Linked DNA regions of Homo sapiens: regions 1, 2, 3 and 4 are each linked to region 5. The links are contacts of gene promoters, found by promoter capture Hi-C in blood cells and fetal thymus (Javierre and others, 2016). All regions are on one chromosome and are shown on one strand. Each heading gives the region's core, a stretch centred on a gene start or on the middle of the fragment in contact. The rest is flanking DNA. Distances are from core to core; before and after follow the strand shown.

Evidence for each region. The method cuts DNA at HindIII sites, captures the fragments that hold promoters and counts their contacts. A CHiCAGO score of 5 or more calls a contact.
Region 1: a contact is called between the fragment with the promoter of PRR13 here and the fragment with the promoter of ITGB7 in region 5, in 1 of 17 cell types (neutrophils). The highest score is 5.3, in neutrophils.
Region 2: a fragment that was not itself captured here is called in contact with the fragment with the promoter of ITGB7 in region 5 in 1 of 17 cell types (erythroblasts); the score reaches 5.8 in erythroblasts.
Region 3: a contact is called between a fragment that was not itself captured here and the fragment with the promoter of ITGB7 in region 5, in 1 of 17 cell types (neutrophils). The highest score is 8.7, in neutrophils.
Region 4: a contact is called between a fragment that was not itself captured here and the fragment with the promoter of ITGB7 in region 5, in 11 of 17 cell types (neutrophils, total B cells, activated CD4 T cells and 8 more). The highest score is 12.7, in neutrophils.

The regions. Positions count from the first base shown.
Region 1 is chr12:53,440,326-53,444,523 of GRCh38, forward strand. It overlaps PRR13 (proline rich 13), which reads left to right and starts at 1,409. Exons shown (of 4, transcript NM_018457.4): 1 at 1,409-1,467; 2 at 2,370-2,408; 3 at 3,066-3,448. The coding sequence starts at 2,390. RefSeq lists enhancers at 381-1,146, 877-966 and a silencer at 1,257-1,406. The HindIII fragment of the contact is 19,365 bases long and covers 1-4,198 here.
Region 2 is chr12:53,066,468-53,070,651 of GRCh38, forward strand. It overlaps SPRYD3 (SPRY domain containing 3), which reads right to left. Exons shown (of 11, transcript NM_032840.3): 7 at 1,688-1,837; 8 at 1,181-1,238; 9 at 106-225; 10 at 1-19. Among named protein-coding and RNA genes, the nearest start is that of SPRYD3, 11 kb to the right of the region's middle. The HindIII fragment of the contact is 1,457 bases long and covers 1,421-2,877 here.
Region 3 is chr12:53,354,983-53,359,593 of GRCh38, forward strand. No RefSeq gene overlaps it. Among named protein-coding and RNA genes, the nearest start is that of SP7, 21 kb to the left of the region's middle. The HindIII fragment of the contact is 3,499 bases long and covers 1,055-4,553 here.
Region 4 is chr12:53,338,601-53,343,402 of GRCh38, forward strand. It overlaps a transcript of SP7 not described here. Among named protein-coding and RNA genes, the nearest start is that of SP7, 4.6 kb to the left of the region's middle. The HindIII fragment of the contact is 269 bases long and covers 2,034-2,302 here.
Region 5 is chr12:53,205,084-53,209,728 of GRCh38, forward strand. It overlaps ITGB7 (integrin subunit beta 7), which reads right to left and starts at 2,168. Exons shown (of 16, transcript NM_000889.3): 1 at 2,119-2,168. RefSeq lists an enhancer at 208-297. The HindIII fragment of the contact is 16,923 bases long and covers 1-4,645 here.

The sequences.
Region 1 (4,198 bases), core at 159-2,658, 230 kb after region 5:
AGCCTTCCCACTAGCTGGGATTACAGGTATGTGCCACCATGCCTAGCTCACTTTCTTTCTTTCTTTCTTTCTTTTTTTTTTTGAGATGGAGTCTCGCTCTGTTGCCCAGGCTGGAGTGCTATGGCGTGATCTCGGTTCACTGCAACCTCCCGGGTTCAAGCGATTCTCCTGCCTCAGCCTCTCAAGTGGCTGGGATTACAGGCACATGTCACCACGCCCGGCTAATTTTTGTATTTTTAGTAGAAACGGGGTTTTACCATATTGGCCAGGCTGGTCTCGAACTCCTGACCTTGTGATCCGCCTGCCTCGGCCTCCCAAAGTGCTGGGATTACAGGCGTGAGCCACTGCGCCCGGCCACTTGTATTTTTTTTTTTTTTTTAAAGGCTGGGTACGGTGGCTCACGCCTATAATCCCAGCACTTTGGGAGGCCGAGGCGGGCAGATCACGAAGTCAAGAGAGCGAGACCATCCTGGCCAACATGGTGAAATCCCATCTCTACTAAAAAATAGAAAAATTAGCCGCGTCTGTAGTCCCAGCTACTTCGGAGGCTGAGGCAGGATTATCGCTTGAACCCGGGAAGCGGAGGTTGCAGTGAGCCGAGGTCGCACCACTGCACTCCAGCCTCGTGACAGAGCGAGACTCCGTCTCAAAAAAAAAAAAAAAAAAAAAAAGGGAGGCCATTGTAGGGAGGCCATTGTAGCAATTCAGGGGAGAGATGAATCCAGGCGACAGATGATGGGAGGTTTGGAGCAGGGAAGACAGAGAGAAGTGGAGAGATTCCAGATATATTTGAGAGACAAAACTGATAATTTGGGGTAAGGGAGGTGAAGGAGGCAGAGGGATCACGGACGCCCTCCTTGGTTTCTGGTTTAGGCTACTTGACAGATGGCGGAGCTATGCAATTGAGAGAGGGAATCCTGGGAGAGATTATGAAATCTCTGTATCTTCCGCAAGAATGTTTGTTTGCTTCCCTTGCGAGTGTAAGACGGAGCCGGGAACATTGAGGCTTGGGGCTGGGACTCAGCAGCTCTTCTGCCCTTGCCGAGAACTCTGTCTATATCTGTATTACAACACTTACCATAGTGTATTCATTTTACAAGGTATTGCACCCAGTGAACCATGAGGTAAGAGAGCAAGGGAAGAGTTTCTTCTCGGTGTCTCTAGGACTTTGCCCAGCAGCTGGCCCCGCCCCCTCCAGCGCTCTCCGCCTAGCCCCGCCCCCAGGAGATTTCCGGCTTCTCGGTACTGGCCTAGCCGTAAAGGGCTCCGCTCCGCCCCTAGAGCAACCGTTTCCTCCTCAGTCGGACCAGAGTGATTGATTAGTTTGTTGTCTAATCATCAGTCGAGCGGCCACATAATTACCAATTAGGCAGTAGCAGAGGCGGGTGCCGAAGCACGGGGTCTGGGTGACTAGGAAGAGCCGAGACTGCGAAGGAGAACGCAGCAAGCCCAGGCGGCGGTGGAAAGGTGATGGGGTATCTGGATTCCATAGGTTTTTCCTTTTCCCCTTGCTAGGTCAAGAGTCTCTTCGCAGCTTGGGGCTAGGATCTTCATTTGCCTTTTTTCTTTTTTGGAGGAAGGGGGCTGTGTCCACATATTTAAGTATTTGAGGTTCTTGGGCAACTTCCTTCTTACTTCGCCTCGAGGCGTATCCTTTTTTTAGCCTGAGGTGGGGTCCTCCCCAGGGAGAGAGAAAGTTGTTTGAGATCCTTTCTTACTCTGTGCGTGGTTAAAGGCCTCCGTACTCAGTTCCAGGGAAAGGGAGATGAGTGATGGTGGGGCCGAGACTCGCGGGTACTGCCTACTTCCGAAGAGTTAGACGCTTCCACCTGGGTGGAGGGGCCCTGGGAACTAGATTCCTGTGTTAGGAACCAAGTAGGTATTGAGGGCGAAGAAACAAGTGGAAAGAGACATTTCTTTTCTTTTCTTTTCTTTTTGAGACGGTGTCTTGCTCCGTCGCCCAGGCTAGAGTGCAGTGGCGCGGTCTCGGCTCACTGCAACCTCTGCCTCCCGGGTTCAAGCAATTTTCCTGACTCAGCCTCCCGAATAACTGGGATTACAGGTGCCCGCCACCGCGCCCGGCTAATTTTTAGATTTTTAGTAGAGACGGGGTTTCACGATGTTGGCCAGGCTGGTCTCGAACTCTTGACCTCGTGATCCACCCGCCTCGGCCTCCCAAAGTGCTGGGATTACAGGCGTGAGCCACCGCGCCCAGCCAGAAAAGAGACATTTCTTATGTGGAAGTTGTGGTAGTTCTCCAGGTAGGAGAGCCTACTGTGGGGTGGAAGACGTTAGGGCTGGGCTCCGGTGCTAAGTCCACTTCCTACCTCTAGACCGTCATCTTTTTTGCCTCATTTCTTTCTCCTCAGGCTGGAGGACACACCTAAACATGTGGAATCCCAATGCCGGTAGGTGTTTGGGGGTTCTGTTCCACCCCTAACCCTTTTTCTGATGGGCTCTATAACAGGAAGTTTCTGTATCAGCTCCCCTACCCCCGACCTGCTGTACCCGCAAAAGCAAAGTCCTTAGTCTAGAGCTGACCAGTGCTTTTTAATTTAATTTAATTTATTTATTTTTTGAGATGGAGTCTCTGTTGCCCAGGCTCACTGCAACCTCCGCCTCCTGGGTTCAAGCGATTCTCCTGTTTCAGCCTCTGGAGTAGCTGAGATTACAGACGCATGCTATCACGCCCGGCTACTTTTTGTATTTTTAGTAGAGATGGGGGTTTCACAATTTGGCCAGGCTGGTCTCAAACTCATGGCCTCATGAGATCTGTCCACCTCGGCCTCCCAAAGTGCTGGGATTACAGGCGTGAGCCACCGCGCCTGGACTGACCAGTGCTTTTGTCTTCCTCAGAGTTCACTGTCTCCCTCCTCTCCCTAGCCCTTCCAGGGACATTCCCCCTTTTCTCCCCAACTCAAGTTTGTCTCCCCTACCCTCCATTCTTCTTTGTCATCTTTCCGTTTCCCTTTAAGTATTGAGTGAGAAAGAATCTCTTTCTTTTTGTTGTTTGTTGTTGGAGACTCTGGGGAATTCTAATGTTTATTCTCTGCTTCTTCCACCAGGGCAGCCAGGGCCAAATCCATATCCCCCCAATATTGGGTGCCCTGGAGGTTCCAATCCTGCCCACCCACCACCTATTAATCCACCCTTTCCCCCAGGCCCCTGTCCTCCTCCCCCAGGAGCTCCCCATGGCAATCCAGCTTTCCCCCCAGGTGGGCCCCCTCATCCTGTGCCACAGCCAGGGTATCCAGGATGCCAACCGTTGGGTCCCTACCCTCCTCCATACCCACCGCCTGCCCCTGGAATCCCTCCTGTGAATCCCTTGGCTCCTGGCATGGTTGGACCAGCAGTGATAGTAGACAAGAAGATGCAGAAGAAAATGAAGAAAGCTCATAAAAAGATGCACAAGCACCAAAAGCACCACAAGTACCACAAGCATGGCAAGGTCAGTACCCTCTGGAGACTGGCTAGGGAAGGAGTCCCCCCTCAGAGGGACTAGGTAGGCAGGGGTTGGGTGAGGGGGATTCACATTCTGTGGACGTGAGGGATGACAATTGTGTCGCTCTGGTAGATGATTCTTCCTTTTTATAAAAGATTGCTACTGGGAAGAATCTGATTATCTTGAAAATAAACATCAGGCTTCTCCTATCTGGGGGGAGTTAGGGTGAGCCTTAGAATGGATTTTAGAATCAAAAGCCAAATCTTTTCTGCCCTACTCTCCCAGAACTTTTGCTCCCCTCCCGCCAGGTGCATATTCTAGCAAGTTGGACACGCCCACTGACATTGTCAAAATACCAAAGTCATTCCTTTGACAAAGCAAGGTCTTATAATAATTAACAGAATTAATCTGTCCCTAGTTCCAGAAGTTCCTTCTCTCTTTCATCAGTGTTCTTAGGGCGTTGTGTTAATTACATGGGTCCTTTGCCCTATCATCCAGCAGAAAAAGTGAGGACAAGAGCAGTCAGTGACTAGGCTTCTAACAAAGCCTAGGACTAAGGAGGTTTTTTTTTTTTTTTTTTGAGACGGAGTCCCGCTCTTTAGCCCAGGCCAGATTGCAGTGGCACAATCTCGGCTCACTGCAAGCTCCGCCTCCCAGGTTCACGCCATTCTCCTGCCTCAGCCTCCCGAGTAGCTGGGACTACAGGCGCCCGCCACCGCGCCCGGCTAATTCTTTGTATTTTTAGTAGAGATGGGG
Region 2 (4,184 bases), core at 899-3,398, 140 kb before region 5:
CAACTGTCATCACTGTCCCCTAGGAGACCAGGAAACCTGAGCTCCTGTGGTGCCTTTCCACCCTCGGCCCCAAGCAGCCTGGCTGGCCACCCCTACCCCACTCACCCTCACTGTCCAAAATGTAGTCCCGGGGGAACATGATTCCACAGCCCATGATGTCCCCTTTGTAACAGCGTGGCCCAAAGGGGTCCCCCACACCACTGCCATGGAAGATCTTCCCATCGTCTGTTGGAGGGAGGGGAAAGGACAAACACTTGAGGAAGGAGGGCTGACACCACACCCCCAGAGTGGCTCATGAAGCTGAACACTTCCCACCCCTCAGAGGAAGGGAAGGGTCAGGGCGGAAACAAAGATGGAGAGAGAGGCCGGGCGCGGTGGCTCACGCCTGGAATCCCAGGACTTTGGGAGGCCAAGGAGGGTGGATCACCTGAAGTCAGGAGTTTGAGACCAGCATGGCCAGCATGGCGAAACATCTCTACTAAAAATACAAAAATTAGCTGGGCGTGGTGGCGCCCGTCTGTAGTCCCAGCTACTCAGGAGGCTGAGGTGGGAGGATCACTTGAGCCTGGGAGGCAGAGGTTGCAGTGAGCCAAGATCATGCCACTGCACTCCAGTCTAGGTGACAGAGTGAGACTCCATCTCAAAAAAAAAAAAAAAAAAAAATTGGAGCGAGATATATGGGAAGGGGGCACCAAATAAAATAAAGAGACGTAGTATCCATCTGCTCAAGGTAAGGGTAAGGGAGAACCCTTAGGAAATGAGTCAGAGGAGGGGGCCCTAGGGAAGGAATGAACACCCAGGGAGGGCAGGCAGGGGGAGGTGGGTCGAGGAACTCTAGGCTCAGTTTTCTTCTAAAGAAAGCCAAGGAAACCAAGCAGCAAAAGAAAAAAGAAAATGAGGAAATGAGGGTCTGCAGGAAGGGCACGGGGGGACCAGCTCAGAGGCCTGGAATGTCCCATCTGGGCCCAGATCTCCCTCTCCTGTCCTGCTCCCCTGGTTTCCAGAGCTGGGAGGAAAACACAGATGAGGAGGAAGCACTAGCGATTTGGGAAGGGGAGGTCAGCCAGCAGCAGGGCAAACAGCAAGGCCATTTGTGAGGGGCCAGGAGAGGGGAAAGTGGATGTCCCTATGCCTCCACATCTCCCACCATCCCACCTTTCCCAGGCAGCCCGCTATTCACCTGCATGATAAGCCACAGACCCTCTGCTCCAGCCAGGGTGCCTGTTCTTGGGATAGTCCTGCACCAAGAAGAGAAAAGAAAATCTATGGTCCCATGCATAAACAAGACAGGAGAGAGTGGCGAGTAGCATCTGAACCTCTGGGACAGACCACAGCCCAGAGAGTGCCAACCCTGCACACTCATACCCTGCAGGCACTGGGGCTTCAGGGGAACCAGGGAGGGTGAGGAAAGTGTTAGTTAAGCTTTTAAGGCCAGAGCCATGGCATGTCCCACCCCCTCCCCCCAGGCCTTAGTGTGTGGTGCAGTCATGACCTGTCTCAGGTCCTTGGTCACATGGGGTGTGTACTCTTACACAGCAGACACATACAACTGTGTTCCATCTCAGCTTAGCACCCTCCCTCCAAAGCCTGGGCTCCCCTGGTTTCTCCTAAGAGCTTCCTGGTGCTGCCCCAACAGCCCCAGACCTGAGCAGCTCCATGAGCAAAAAAGCTCAGCCTTTGTGCCCACCTTCCGTGCCAGCCCCAGGGCGATGTAGCATTTCTCTCCAGGGTCCACGATCTCCACCTCGAAGTAGTGGCTGCGGGTGCTGAGTGGGTGCCGGGCCTGGGCCAGCCCCACATCCACGATGCTTTTGCCCTTCCCTAAGTACTCCAGCAGCTGTGGGGGAAGAGCCAGATGGGGGTCAGGGGACAGGCTGACACCCACCCTGGAAACCTGGGCCCAAGGCAGTCTGGGTCCCACTTTCCCAGGTCTGACAAAAACTCCTGGCTGAAAGGGAAAGAATCCTAGAGATACAATGTGGCCCCAAAGTTCTAGGCCAGCATGGAAGAGCAGGATGGGGTGGGAGGCAAAGGGGAGAGCACCCCTTGCTGAATGCCCACGCTGTCTTCCCCCACACACTTTCTGGGAGGCCGGGGAAAGCAGCACAGCTAGGGGAGCGGCACACCAGGGGGCTCTAGATGCATCCTCGCCCGCTGAAAAACCCTGCAGCCTTTCCTGCTGGGAAAGGTCCGCCCAGGGTCCCAAACACAGGGGAAAGGAGAAGCAAGACTAGCTGAGAGGAAACTTGATGACTTTCTCAGGGGGCCTAATGGGGACAGGGAGGATGCAGAAGTTAGGTGCCAACCCCAGATATTCAGGGGAAGCGGGTGAGTTCAGAAGCCAATTCTGCCTGGGATGGGCCTGACATAATTTCTCAAGGTCCTTGTTTTACTTGGCTGTGAACACAGCTGTTCTTAGCTGGGTCAGGGAGGTGCTGAGGGGAGCCCAGGGACCCAGAACGCCCAGCTCTACTCCCTCATTTCATGTGAGGGAGAGGAGAGGTCAAAATGAAGACAGAGGCAGGCTTAGCTGTTCCCAGCCCCTCATTGCTCATTCAAGTTGGAGTAGGGGCGTGGAGGTAGGATAGGGGAGATGACTGATGGGTTCTTGGGGCTCTTCAGTCCCACAATGGTCCTGCCTGGGCACGACGGGGCGGCAACCCCCAATCTGGGAGGATTTATTTGTCAGTTGTCATGGTAATAGTGGGGTGATGACTCAACCCCATCCCCTCTTTCCCCCACCTTCGGCCTCACCTGGGATTCCTTAATCTCCTTTTAATTAGCCCAACTGCCCCTCACGACTTTCTTCTACCCTCCCACCCCTGCAGCCCTGAAGGAAACATGTTGCCTAGGGACCTCCTCCACGTCTCCCTGGCAAGCTTTGGGACGCCGGCCTCTCACCTCTCACAGATTCCTGCCTGAACAGGAAAGGAATTATGCCCACCTGCACCAGCACAGAAGCCTGTGCGTGTCTCCAGCAGAGGCTGCTCCCGCATCCCCACTCCCAGCCTCAGACGGCCGCTGCTTAGCTCAGGTGCTTAGAGCGGGGTGCTACTAACCCCTTCTGAGAGTAGGACTAGAGGGGCTTGGTGCCTTTCTCAGCCCTGGATCTCAGCCCCGCCACCTCAAGTCCATCCTTCCCTCCTCTCCAAAGATAACTGGGGATGGATGAGGGGGAAAGCAGCATGCACGGGAGACCACCTAAGCCCATCCCCAAGGCCACACTGTTTGACTTCTGTTCATGGTGTATTCTCTGCTCAGCCTGGGTTCCTCCTCTGCCTCTCTCCCCGGGAAGCCAGGAGGGGTGTGGCTTGATCCACATTAACTAGTTTAGACTCCACCCAGGCAGAGCAGCCCCCAGCCCACCCTCTCCACCCAGCATTGCAGAACTGGGTGGGGGACCCCACAGCTGCCTTTGACCCATTCTATCCAACTGGCCTCGGTGTAGGAAACACAGTGTTCTCCATTTCCAGAGCCAAAAGACAGCCGATCCAGACCCTGATCCTTGGGAAATACCCGGCCAGCCCCTCCCTTTGCCTCAGCTCAGAAGAGGGTAGCTGCTGCATTTCTGTCTCTGGATAGGGTGGAGGTGCTTTCTCACGCTAAAAGCCAGGACGGACTACCCCAACATGGGTCTTTAAAACCCACTCTCTACCTGCCAACCACAGAGCACTTCGGACAGAATGCTGATGTCCTGGACGACTAGGTACTTGTACAGTGTATAGGTGAGGCTTGTACAGCGTGCCCTCTTCAGAGGGGACCGCCCAGCCCTCACAGTGAAAGCCATCATAAACCTCCTGATCCACTCTCCTGCTCCTGGACAAAGCTCCCCCGACCCCTCCTGAGCCTTCCCAGAGAACTCAGAGGGGTGGAAGTGGGGGGAATATTTGGCCTCCCTGACAGATTCTTTCTTGAGTACATTCCTCTGCCTCCTTGGTCTATAGCTGTTAGGAACCTAGAGGAGGAGTGAAGGTTAACCCTTAGAGTCTGAACTGTTAGGATCTTGATGCTGGTCCCTCAACCTGTACCTCAGAATCCAACAGACCTGGGTTCAAATCCTAACTCCTATTACTTAACAGCCGCTAACCTCAGGCAAATGACATTCACCTCCTTAAGCCTTGGTTTCTTCAACAGTAAACTGGGATAAGATTACCTGAATTTCCAAAAACAAGTGGGAAGACTTA
Region 3 (4,611 bases), core at 1,554-4,053, 150 kb after region 5:
AATCCCAGCTACTCGGGAGGCTGAGGCAGGAGAATCGCTTGAACCCAGGAGGCGGAGGTTGCAGTGAGCCGAGATCGCGGCACTGCACTCCAGCCTGGGCAACAAGAGCAAAAACTCCGTCTCAAAAAGAAAAAAAAAGAGTTAATGAAGATAAATAAAGAGCCGGGAGCTAAGCACAGTGGTGCACACCTATAGTCCCAGCTACTCTGGAGGCAGAGGCAGGGGGAGACCTTGGGCCCAGGAGTTCAAACATGCAGTGATCTATGATAATGTCATTGCACTCCAGCCTGGGTGACAGAGCAAGATGGATGGAAGGAAGCGAGGGAGGGAGGAAGGCAGGAAGGAAGGCAGTGGGGAGGGAGGGAGAAAGGAAGGAAAATAAAAGAAAAGAAAAAACAAAAGAAGAAACAAAAGAAAAGAAGGGCTGGATGTACTGGCACATGCCTATAGTCCCACAGGAGGGTCGCTGGAGTCCAGTTTGAGCCCAGTTCCAGATCAGCTACATGATGAGACCTTTTTTTTTTTTTTTTTTTTGAGATGGGGTCTCATTCTGTCACTGAGGGTGGAGTACAATGGCGTAATCTTGACTCACTGCAACCTCTGCCTCCCAGGCTCAAACAGTCCTCCTACCTCAGCCTCCTGAGTAGCTGAGATCACAGGCGAGCACCACAACACCCGGCTAATTTTTTTGTATTTTTGGTAGAGACTGGGTTTCGCCATGTTGCCCAGGCTAGTCTTAAACTCCTAAACCCAGGTGGTCCACCCACCTCAGCCGCCCAAAGTGCTGGGATTACAGGCGTGAATCACTGCGCCCAATGAGACCCTGTCTTAAGAAAAAAGAAAGAAGAAAAAAAGAGGCTGGGCACAGTGACTCATGCCTGTAATCCCAGCACTTTGGGAGGCTGAGGCGGGTGGATTGCTTGAGTCCAGGAGTTCCAGACCAGCCTTGGCCTCTGGAAGGCTTTGTGAAACCACACCTCAGGTAAAAATACACACAGACACACAAAATTAGCCAGGCGTGATGGCATCCACCTGTAGTCCCAGCTACTTGGGAAGCTTGAGGTGGGAGAGTCACCTGAGCTTGGGGAGACAGTTTGCAGTGAGCTGCCGTCCTACCACTGCACTCAAGGTCTAATCTTTGTTCTCAGAAAGCCCACAGAAACTTAAAAGAAGAAAAAGAAATGAAGAGTTATTGAAAGATGTGGAGTAAGGAGGTGAAATGACCAGGCTTTTATATTAGAATCTTCACCATGAGAAAGTATTACACAGAACTATAAGGTAACATGTTTGAGAATATTCATGACAGCTTTCTGGTTCAAGAAGCTAGTTCTTGGCCAGGCGTGGTGGCTTCACACCAGTAATCTCAGCACTTTCGGAGGCTGAGGTGGGTGGATCACCTGAGGACAGGAGTTTGAGACCAGCCTGGCCAACATGGTGAAACACCATCTCTACTAAAAATATAAAAACTAGCCGGGCTTGGTGGTGGGTGCCTGTAATCCCAGCTACTTGGGAAGCTGAGGCAGGAGAACTGCTTGAACCCAGGAGATGGAGGTTGCAGTGAGCCAACACGGTGCCACTGAACTCCAGCCTGGGCAACAGAGTAAGACTATGTCTCAAAAAGTAATAATAATAATAAAAAAGTTAAAAAGAAGCTAGTTCTCCATCTTGCAGGGAATACTATGCATAAGTTAGAAGTGATAAACTAGGCCATGTGCAGTGGCTCACACCTGCAATTCTAGCATTCCAGCACTTTGGGAGGCTGAGGCAGGAGGATTGCTTGAAGCCAGTAGTTAGAGACCAGCCTGCTCAACATAGCAGGACCCCATCTCTACGATAAAAAATAAAATAAATGGGCCGGGCGCAGTGGCTCATGACTGTAATCCCAGCACTTTGGGAGGCTGAGGGAGGCAGATCACCTGAGGTCAGGAGTTTGAGACCAGCCTGGCCAACATGGCGAAACCCCATCTCTACTAAAAATACAAAAATCAGCCGGGTGTGGTGATGGGTGCCTGTAATCCCAGCTACTTGGGAGGCTGAGACAGGAGAATCGCTTGAACCTGGGAGGTGGAGGTTGCAATGAGCCGAGATCGTGCCATTACACTCCAGCCTGGGCGAGAAGAGCAAGATGCCGTCTCAAAAAAACAAAAAACAAAAAACAAAAACAAAAACAAACAAACAAATAAAATAAATGAAGTGATAAACTAGATATACCTGTAGAAACATGTATAAATCTTTTTTTTGCTGGATGAAACTTTTTTTTTTGAGACGGAGTCAAGTCTTGCTCTGTCACAAGGCTGGAGTGCAGTGGCGCGATCTCAGCTCACTGCAACCTCCACCTCCCGGGTTCAAGTTATTCTCCTACCTCAGCCTCTCGAGTAGCTGGGACTATAGGCAGCATGTGCCACCACGCCCAGCTGATTTTTGTATTTTTAGTAGAGACAAGGTTTCACCATGTTAGCCAGGATGGTCTCAATCTCTTGACCTCATGATCGGCCCCCCTCAGCCTCCCAAAGTGCTGGGATTACAGGCATGAGCCCCAACAACCAACTGAAACACTTTATTTTATTTTTAATTTAATTTAATTTTTATTTTTGTATTTTTAGTAGAGAAGGGGTTTCACCATGGTCTCGATCTCCTGACCTCGTGATCCGCCCGCCTCAGCCTCCCAAAGTGCTGGGATTACAAGGGTAAGCCACTGCGCCTGGCCTTTATTTTTATTTTTTTGAGACGGAGTCTCACTCTGTCACCCAGGCTGGAATACGGTGGCCCAATCTCAGCTCACTGCAAGCTCCGCCTCCCGGGTTCACGCCATTCTCCTGCCTCAGCCTCCCAAGTAGCTGGGACTACAGGCATCAGCCACCTCGCCCCTCTAATGACCAGCATTAAAACAGAGATCTTGGCCAGGCACAGTGGTTCACGCACGTAATCCCAGCACTTTGGGAGGCCGAGGCGGGTGGATCACCTGAGGTCAGGAGTTGGAGACCAGCCTGACCAAGATGGAGAAACCCTGTCTCTACTAAAAATATAAAATTAGCCGGGTGAGGTGGCACATGCCTGTAATCTCAGCTACTCGGCAGGTTGAGGCAGGAGAATTGCTGGAACCTGGGAGACGGAGGTTGTGTAGGCCAGGCACAGTGGCTCACGCCTATAATCCCATCACTTTGGGAGGCTGAGGCAGGCAGATCACCTGAGGTCAGGAGTTCAAGACCAGCCTGGCCAACATGGTGACCCCATTCTCTACAAAAATACAAAAATTAGCCAGGCATGATGGCAGGTGCCTGTAATCCCAGCTACATGGGTGGCTGAGGCAGGAGAATCACGTGAACCCGGGAGACAGAGGCTGCCTCGAGCCGAGATCAAGCCATTGTACTCTAGCCTGAGTGACAAAGTGAGACTCTGTCTCAAAAAACAGAAAAAGGCAGGGCGTGGTGGTTCACGCCTGTTTAATCCCAGCACTTTGGGAGGCCGAGGTGGGTGAATTACCTGAGGTCGGGAGTTCAAGACTAGCCTGACCAACATGGAGAAACCCTGTCTCTACTAAAAATATAAAATTAGCCACGTGAGGTGGTACATGCCTGTAATCCCAGCTACTCGGCCGCTTGAGGCAGGAGAATCGCTTGAACCCGGGAGGCGGAGGTTGCGGTGAGCCAAGATCATGCCACTGCACTCCAGCCTGGGCAACAAGAGCGAAACTCCGTCAAAAAAAAAAAAAAATTAGCTGTGTGTGGTGTCACCTGCCTATGGTCCCAGCTACTGGGGAGGCTGAGGCAGGAAGATCACTTGAGTCTGGGAGGTTGAGGCTGCAGTGAATCATGATTGCACCACTGCACTCCAGCCTGGGCGACAGAGCAAGACCGTCTCAAAAAAAGAAAGAAACATTTAACAGGGACTTACAAACAGAAGCCCTGTTTGTATCTCTGGCAGTGGTGAGACAAGACAGTGTATCCCTGTGCCATTAATCTCCAGATCCAGAATTTATATACCATAGGGAAGGAATGTGTAGGACAATTGAAGTCGACCTCTATGGGAAAGGCAAGAATGTTCTGTGAATCTGCCTAAGGGCAAGATTCATGGTCAAGGTGGTCTTGACCTAAGGGCAGGATTTATGATAAGTATATGCTCTTACCCAAAGATCAGTAGATAAAATAAAAATTTTAGAGGCATTCCTGGAGCTGGGGTTATTCAGAAGTCAACATAGCAGATTAACATCCAAGATGGAGTTGCTTCAGCCTCCATTCTGTAAAACTCTAGAAAAAAATAAATCTAGGGGCCAGGCACAGTGGCTCATGCCTATAATCCCAGCACTTTGGTAGGCCGAGGCGGGTGGATCATGATGTAAAGAGATTGAGACCATCCTGGACTCCATCTCAATTAAAAAAAAAAAAAAATTAGCTGAGCGTGGTGGCAGGCAACAAGAACAAAACTCCTGTCAAAAAACAAAACAAAACAACAACAACACCTGCAGCGTGTGTAGAATTTAAAAAAAGACAATCCATAGGGAGAAAATATTTGTCATATTTTAAACAAATAATTAATATCTAATACACATAACAAGCTTCTTTAAGTCAAACAATGCAATACAAAAATATAGCCTGAGCCAGGCGCGGTGGC
Region 4 (4,802 bases), core at 918-3,417, 130 kb after region 5:
CTCCCCGTGTGGGCTTTAATCCCTAACCCTACCCGGGAAGGGGCAGACGTATTCAAACCCTACTATTCTCTATTCGAACCCTACTATTCTCGGAGAAATAAAAAGGAGGAGCAGAGTCCCAGGAAGATGTGAGCCAGTGCCCCGATGTGTCAACATAGGACACCCTCTGGACACAGAGCCTCTTCCCCACCAGAGATCAGCGCCAAAGATAGGCAGAGGGGCTGCCTGAATCCCCCAGCTGCTGCCCTCAGGAACCCCTGGGTTCTGACTTCTCCATGTCCTTTTTAAAAATAGTCCTGCAGCCCAGCTGAGGCTCTGGTGTTCCTGGGTCCAGCTCCCCAGTCTCCTTCCCAGTGCCCTGAGGGGCTGGGGGCAGCAATTGGAAGCCCTAACCAAGGACCTACCTCCACCCTCTCAGGCCTCCCTCAGCCCAGCCTCCCAGGGGGTGGGGCAGACCAGGGAGAGGCGCCATGTGGCAGGGGCGGGTAGAGGCTGCGGCTCTGGTCCTTCCAGTATAAACCCCCTAGGCATCTGGTTTCTATCCACCACCCCCCACCACCCTGGGGGCCCCTCAGCCTCCGCCCATGGCCACCCAGACGCTGAGCTCCAAGGGATGGATGCCCCAGACGGAAGGGGTGGGATGATGCCTTTCTGATATCCCAATGCCAGGACTGGGCTGAACCACAGGAACCATTCCCTTCCCACCCTCCCCTAGGAGAATCAGGGTGGGCTTTGTAGGTTAGAGGGGGTTGAATCTGGCACCTGCCTCAGTTCTCCAAATGATTTTGGATCTTTTTGGAAAGATCAGTGGGGTGAAAACAGAATGAAAACTGGGGAGAGTGGGGCCGGGTGCAGTGGCTCACGCCGGTAATCCCAGCGCTTTGGGAGGCCAAGGTGGGTGGATCACCTGAGGTCAGGAGTTTGAGACAGCCTGGCCAACATGGTGAAACCCCGTCTCTACTAAAAATACAAAAATCAGCTGAGCGTGGTGACGGGTGCCTGTAATCCCAGCTACTTGGGAGGCTGAGGCAGTAGAATCACTTGAACCCAGGAGGTGGAGATTGCAGTGAGCTGAGATCATGCCATTGCACTCCAGCCTGGGCAACAAGAACAAAACTCCATCTCAAAAAAAAAAAAAAAGAAAGAAAAAAAAAACTGGGGAGAGTGGGAGACCTGTACCCCCTATTCCCAAGGGATGCTACTTCCATCGTCCACACCATCACCCTCTACCACCTTTCTAGGCTGGGCTGTCTCTAAGAGCCTCATCCAAAGGGACTCCCAACTCTTCATTGTTGCTGTTATAGAAGGTTTGACTACCCTAGGGAGAATCACCAGAGAATAGTGAGCAGAGCCCCTGAAATAGAGACTGACACATGCCCTAATACATACCTGATGACAGACACATTCAGATCTGCATACTTGCACACACACAAGGTGACACATAATTCATACACATTTGTACTATGCAGGCATCCATATTGACACACACTGATATATACATATACAGATAATGCTTACCCCAAGACACCCTAACCCCCAATCATAAAAATGCACACACCAGTATATATATACATGCATACAGACTCACAGCCACCTAGAATACTCCCCACATGGACTCACAGACTCCCATCAACACACGTATCTACACATGTGGCAAATGTCACATACATATACCCAGGGCTACCATTACAACTTTACAGCCCTGGAGATCTCTGTGGTCTCCTAAAGGGCATTTGGGAACCCCTCTCCCTATAAGGATCTGGAGATAAGGGTGATATGGAGGCCACTGCCAGTCCTGCAAATTGCTGCCTCCAACTCCTACTAGTATAAGAAGTTCCAGTGTACCTTTAGGTACTTTTGATCCAATACTCCACACACACACCAGAGTTCAGAGACCCAGATGGCCCCAGCGAACTCCCTGGTCCTGGGGAACCCCAGCATCCCTACCCCCACCCAGGCCCCCGCTGCTCTGCGGCCCCGCTGACTCATCTCTCCCTCTGTGGAGCTCCCCAACCACAGGGGCCTGGAAGAGAAGCTTGGAAAGTTGCGCTCATGTCCCGGGCCCCTGGTCTGGCCACTACCCGCCCATGCACCCAGCCCAGCCCTTGTCTCCAGTGGATACTCCAGCGACAGAGAACATAGAGGGGACAGGAAAGAAGAAGGCACGCAGAGACAGGGAAACAGAAAGACACAGGAGAGACAAAGAGGAAACAACAAATGGTGGGCATACAGATGAGAGACCCTGAGGATCAGCTACTAGTCTGTTGGGTCCTCTAAGAGCAATGGGGCTGATGACCAGGAAAGCTTGCTCCTTGGGTTGAAGGAACATCCATTCATGGCCTCAGGATTTAGAGACTGCCGAGTGCCTTGACCCAGCATTTCTGACACTAGGCTCAGGGTACTTGGGGAAGAGGATCCAATTTTAGGAGGCAAAGCTGAGGACACAGGGTAGAAAGGAAGCTTTTAAGAGGCTGGCAACCTTTGTATAGGACAGCTTGGAAAAGGAGTTCCTCACCCCAACAAATATGTACACAAATTTACAGGTACAGACAGACTACAACTTCCCTCCCTCTCTGCTAGGTCTCCCCATCCCCTCTTCCAGCACCAGGGCTGCAAGGCAGGACCTCTGGGACTGACTCTGGCTCCCCTCTTCCCTGAGCCTTGGGTTCCTTCATTGACATTGAGCCCTGATATAATTCAGCAGCTTTAGGAGAGGCAGATCAGAATCAGAAACAGAAGTGCCATGGAAGGAGCAGGAAGGAATCTGGATGGCAGGGGACAAAGTGAAAAATGAAAGGAAGAGGAAGACTGGGGTCTGATTCTGAAACAAGGGGACCTGTCCTGGATGCCCGTGTCTAAAATGGGACAACATTGAATTAAGTAAGAACCTGGTCATCTCTAGAAAATGACCCTTTGTAAAAACGATACCCTAGAATCTGATCCATGAAATATACTAGTGTCTTTCATAAGAAGAAGTTGGGGTGATGGAGTTCTGATCACATCATCCCTAGGAGTGAGGCTGAGCAACTCAAGGGAATGGTCCTTCAAAATCCTAAATACAGGCCTGGTGAGGTGGCTCACACCTGTAATCCCAGCACTTTGGGAGGCCGAGGTGGGTGGATCACCTGAGGTCAGAAGTTTGAGACTAGCGTGGCCAACATGGCAAAACCCTGTCTCAGGCTGGCCGAGGTGGCTCATGCCTGTAATCCCAGCACTTTGAGAGGCTGAGGAGGGCGGATCACGAGGTCAGGAGATCGAGACCATCCTGGCTAACATGGTGAAACCCTGTCTCTACTAAAAATACAAAAAATTAGCCGGGCGTGGTGGCGGGCGCCTGTAGTCCCAGCTACTTGGTAGGCTGAGGCAGAAGAATGGCGTGACCGGGAGGTGGAGCTTGCAGTGAGCCGAGATCGCGCCACTGCACCCCAGCCTGGGCGACAGAGCGAGACTCCGTCTCAAAAAAAAAAACAAAAAACAAACAAACAAACCCTGTCTCTACTAAAAATACAAAAATTAGCTGGGTGTGGTGGCGCGTGCCTGTAATCCCAGCTACTCTGGAGGCTGAGGTAGGAGAATCACTTGAACCCAGAAGGCAGAGATTGCAGTGAGCCGAGATTGTGCCACTGCACTCCAGCCTGGAAGACAAGCGAGACTCCATTTAAAAAAAAAAAAATTCCTAAATACACACGTCTCCCCGCTTTCTCTGGCCTGCTGCATTCTTCCTCGGAGCCCAGATTTTTGAAATGTGGAATGAACTTAAAGAACATTCTTTCATTCAACAAATGTTCAGAAAGCACCTACTTTGTGCTAAGCACACTGGGCTAGACTTAGGCATGCAATAACAAGCAAGACAGACTCATCCCTTCACCTCACAAACTAACCAGCAACTAATACAAAAGAGTAGGAAGTATCTCGATAGAATAAGTACTGGAGGGCCAGGCGTGGTGGCTCACGCCTGTAATTCCAACACTGTAGGAGGCCAAGGTGGGTAGATCATAAGGTCAGGAGTTCGAGACTAGCCTGGCCAAGATGGTGAAACCCCATCTCTACTAAAAATACAAAAAAATTAGCCAGATGTGGTGGCAGATGCCTGTAATCCCAGCTACTTGGGAGGCTGAGGCAGAGAATTGCTTGAACCTGGGAGGCGGGGGTTGCAGTGAGCCAAGATTGTGCCACTGCATCCCAGCCTAGGTGACACAGAGAGACTCCGTCTCAAAAAATAAATAAATAAATAAATAATAAATAATAAAAATAAAATAAAATAAAAAATAAGTACTGGATGTTATAGGAGACAAAAGAGTAAATCTAAGCCAGTGTTGGGGGGGAATTAAGGAAGGCTTCCTGGAAGACAGCATGACTAAGTAAAGAAACTGAAGGACAAATAAGAGTTATCAAGTAAAAAAAGGAAGAGTGGTGCCAGTGCAGTGGCTCATGCCTGTAATCCCAGCACTTTGGGAGGCTGAGGTGGGTGGATCACTTGAGTCTAGGAGTTTGAGACCAGCCTGGGCAACATGACGAAACCCCATCTCTACAAAAAATACAAAAAAAAAAAAACATAGTCTGGGTGACAGAATGAGACCTTGTCTAAAAGAAAAAAAAAAGGAAGAGTGTTGTAGGAAGGGGGAAGAGTATATGCAAAGGCTCAGAGGTATGAGGGATTAACAACTTTTGAGATGCTGAAAATTGAGTGTGAGTGCAACACAGAGTGGAGGCTGATGGAGAAGTTCTAATCAGCTATGCAAGGGGCCTAGACTTGATCCAAAGGCAATATATGAGAATACTCGTATATTAGAGAAATGACT
Region 5 (4,645 bases), core at 918-3,417:
CAAAGTGCTGGAATTACAGGCATGAGCCACTGTGCCTGGCCTTAAATTGTTTCTAGTTCCCTATGACAAATAATGCTGAAATGAAAAGTAATGTATGTATTTATTTATTTATTCATTTGAGAGATAGGGTCTTGCTCTGTCACCCGGCTGTAGTGTACTGGTGCAATCATGGCTCACTGCTGCCTTGACCTTGCCGGCTCAATTGATCCTTCCACCTCAGCCTCCCGAGTAGCTGGTACTACAGGCGCATGCTACCATGTCTGGCTAATTATTTTTGTATTATTTTGCAGAGATGGGGCTTCCCCATGTTGCCCAGGCTGGTCTAGAACTCCTGAGCTCAAGCGACCCACCTGCCTCGGCCTCCCAAATTGCCGTGATTACAGGCGTGAGCCATCACCCCCAGCCAAATGTCATGTATTTATCATTTCACACGTCTGCAACTGAATCTGTAGGATAAATCCCTAGCAGAGGACGTGCAGGATAACTAGATAGGTATCATTTGTAATACTGGTGTGTATTTCATCTACATTCTCATGCTAAGAAATATATATATATAGGTGGGTATTGCCAACATAAACTCTTCAGGACTTGTACTGGTCCACATTCCCATCAGCAATGTATGAGAAAGGCCAACTAACTCCTTGTCATAAACCATTTGCATCTTCTTCAGCCTGGGCCCAGAGTCAGGTCCAGATACTCTGCACAGAGTGTGGGAAAGGGGTGGGGTGTTGAGTCCTTGAATGTCCTGGTCCTGCTCCCCACCACCTGTGACCTCAGGCGCCATATATAACGGAGCCTCCACCCCTCGGGGAGAGGCCAGTCCCAGCTCAGCCTCAGCGTAACCTCAGCCCTGCTTGCTCTGCATGCCTGTGGTCAGGGAGGCTGGAGATGCTGCAACCCAAAGCCGGGTTTTGACTCATCTCTCACAAGTGGAGCCCCGGCTGCCGCATAGGTTTTTCAGAGACCTTAGGCCCACTCATCTCCCCTTAAAGGGGGCCCTGGGACTTCCTGGACAGCCCTTTCCTACCTTTCTTTCCAATTATCCTCTCTTCTCCCCTCCTTGAGAATACATGTTCTGCCACCTATTTCTCTGTCTGCTTCTCTGTCTCTCTCTGGCTCCTTTCATTTCAAAACTTCTATTGCATCTCTCTGCTGCTTTTCTCTGCTCCACTTCTTCATAGGGCTATTTTACTTCCTTTTCCCCTCTGTTCCTAACTATAGAATGGCTGAATCTACTACTCCATCCCACTCTTTTTACAAATGGAAACCTAAATTCCATGAGGCCAGGGTCACCCAGTGAACTAGGGGCAGGGCAGGACAGGGCAGGGCCAGGCCTCTGCTGTGCTTTCTCCTTTCCTCCCTCCAACCCAGGCACTATCTCCATCAAAAGTTGTGTTCTCTCCCCACTAGCCCTGGTGGGCTCTGCCTAATCCCATTTCTCTTTCCTTAGGGGTATTCTGCAGTCTTCCCTTCTCTCTCTGGGACCAAGTGGTTATTTCCATTTTTCTGGACTCCATTCTGACTCCAGTACACACCCTGTGACCCCCCTCAGCAGCTGAGAAACAGAGCCTCTTCCAAACCCATCCCTACCTTCCAAATCAAGCAGAACCCTCTGCTGCCCACTGGGAGTCACAAGGAGGGGACGGAACTGAGCTGCTGGGCCTCAGTGTCCCAGGACAGTGGAGTCTGTGACCAAGGTGCCGATTAGGAAGAAGTCTGAGCTGAAGGCAGAGCATTAGGGATAGCAGCTGGGGGTGATGTTGGAAGAACCCTCCCTCAGTATAATCGGTATACCTGCCCTACTTCGGTATAGTCCTTGGCACATGGCAGGCACTCAGATGACAGCACTCATATACATCCCTGCCTCCAGACCCACTCATGGGAAACTGATGCAGGAGAGATTGGGCTTTTGGAGAGGTGGAGGTGGGGGTACTGTGAAACTGGAGGAGGGAACCAGGTCAGGGGATCTTAGGAATGCAGAAAGGAGTTCAGAGCCTTTCTCAAGTCTGGACAGGACCCTCGGTATCCAGGTCAGAGCCCTCTTCCCAAGAGGTTGGGACCAGGTGGGCCAGAGCTTGTAAGGAGAGGAGGCAGAAGGGCTGGTGCCCTGGTACTCACAGGTGCGTGCAGAGCAGTCCTTCCTCTGGCGGCAGCAGCAGCCTTTGTGTACTGATCTGGGAGACGGCAGAGGAGGAAGTGACACTCCCCAGGGTGGGGAAGATTTGGGGTTGGTGGGGGTGACTGATCTAGAAGGTGGTGCAGATAGGGGTGGGGCTGAGCCAAGGGAGTGGACAATACAGAGATCTGGAAGAAAGAAGCCCATTTATTGAACCCCTGTCATGTGTTGAACGTAACATATTACAATTAACCCTCACAACAATCTCATAAGATAGGGGTTAATATTCCCCCAAGCCCCAATTTTACAGATGCAGAGATTGAGGCTTGGAAGCAGGAAATAAAGAATTTTGCCCAAGGTCCCACAGCTAGTAAGTAGCTAGTCTAGGATTTAAAAAAAAAAAAGAAAAAAGATTTTTATTTTAAATTTTTATTATTTTATTTTTTTTATTTTAATTTAATTTAACTTTTGAGACAGGGTCTTGCTCTGTTTCCCAGGCACAATCTCAGCTCACTGTCCCATGGCACAATCTCAGCTCACTGCAAACTCCGCCTCCCAGGTTCAAGCGATTCTCCTGCCTCAGCCTCCCGAATAGCTGGGATTACAGGGGTGCACTACCATGCCCAGCAACGTTTTATATTCTTAATAGAGACGGGGTTTCACCATGTTGGCCAGGCTGGTCTCAAACTCTTGACCTCAATTGATCTGCCCACCTCGGCCTCCCAAAGTGCTGGGATTACAGGTGTGGGCCACCATGCCCAGCCTGTTTTTTATTTTTGAGACAGGGTCTTGCTGTGTTGCCCAGGCTGGTCTGTAACTCCTGGACTCAAGCAATCCTCCCACTTTGGCCTCCTGAGTAGCTGGGATTACAGGCACACTCGGCTGGTCTGGGATTTAAATCCAGGTCTGCCTGCCTCCAAAATTCATGATCTCTCCATTTACTTATATAGGAAGGAACATGATAGGAGGGAATAGGGGCAGTAAGTACTGTAGAGAGGCCAGAAATTACAGACTTGTTCATTTTGAAAACCCAGGATACATTATATAAGTGTGCTTGACTACATAGGCTCTGGAGCCAAGTTGCTAGAGTTCAAATCCTGGCTCTACTACTTACTAGTAGTAAGGAGCTTAGCTGAGTTACTTAAACCTGCCTGCAGCTGTTTTCTCATCTGTCCAGCAAGACTCACAGGATTGTCGTGAGAATTAAAAGAGATAATTCATATCAATTGCCTACAAGACTACCTGGCACATACTAAGTAAGGGCTTGATAAGAGAATTAGTAGGGATGAGAAGTAGCAGAGGTGAGAAGTGAAGAGGCTTTGAGAAATTCAAGGTCCACACAACTGGAAACTTGGAAGAGAGAGGCATAGGGCCAGGCTCAGAGCATGTGATTGGGGAACCAGGAGCCAACACAGTAGTGGATCCTGGGAAAGGGGTGGAGGAGGTGAACTGGGAGAAGCAGAGAGTGCAGGAACAACAGCTGAAGCCAAGGCAAGGATGAAGCCCGTAGGGAGAGCAGGAAAATATTAATGGGATTTGCTCCTGGCCCATACAGATCACTAAGAGCTTTGAGAGGGAACTAGACATGAGGTCTGTGTTCACAGGTCGATCTCCCCTACCAGAAGGAGCACTCCTTGTAGGCAGGGACTGGCTCTACAAGGCTTCCCTGCTGGAGCCACCACACCTAGCCAAGTGCCCATCTTATAGTAGGTGCTCAATAAATGTCAGATGGATTGCAGAGGTGTAGCTGCTAGGAGGGGACAATTGGAGAGGAGGGGCTCTTTCTCTGGGTGGGCTTGGCTGGCCTCAGGCTATGGGATAGCCAGGACCTATACCCTTCCCCCACAACCAGGGGTTACCACGGCAATGACCCTCCTTCCCCACAGGCCCTGTGGTTTCCTCTAGAGCTTCTTTCACTTTCTTCTTCTGCTTTCCGCCCTCCACTCTTCTCTCCCCTACTCCCACATCCTCAACTTTTTTGTCATAACCACAGGTCACCAATGAAGAGAGCCAGGAACAAGGTAGGCAAGGCACTGTCCCAGGGAAGGTAGGACACGGAGGAGGGGCTTGAGGGGAGTCACAGAGGGCGAAGGGAAGAGTACAGGGTGCAGCAGTAGAGGCCAAAGGCACTGCAAAGGCGTGTTGCAGAGGGAAGGCGTGTGGGAGCAAGGACAGATATTCGGAAAGAAGGTAACAGTGCAGGTGGCAGTGAGTGGAGGTCATGGGGTGAAGAGTGGGAACAGAGAGGGTGGGGGGAGTAAGGTATAAGGTGATAGCAGGGTGGTTGGGGACAGAAGGCCAGAGGGCTCCCTGGGTGAGGGGCTGGTGTAAAACAGTAACACTGTAGCTTAGATGCGGGCTTCTTCTCTTCTGGGGCCAGGAGCCCTCATGAGAACTAAATGAAACTTCAGGGCAGGCATGGTGGCTCACGCCTGTAATCTCAACACTTTGGGAGGCTGAAGTAGGTGGATCACTTGAGGTCAGGAGTTCGAGACCAGCCTAGCCAACATGGTGAAACCCCATCTCTAC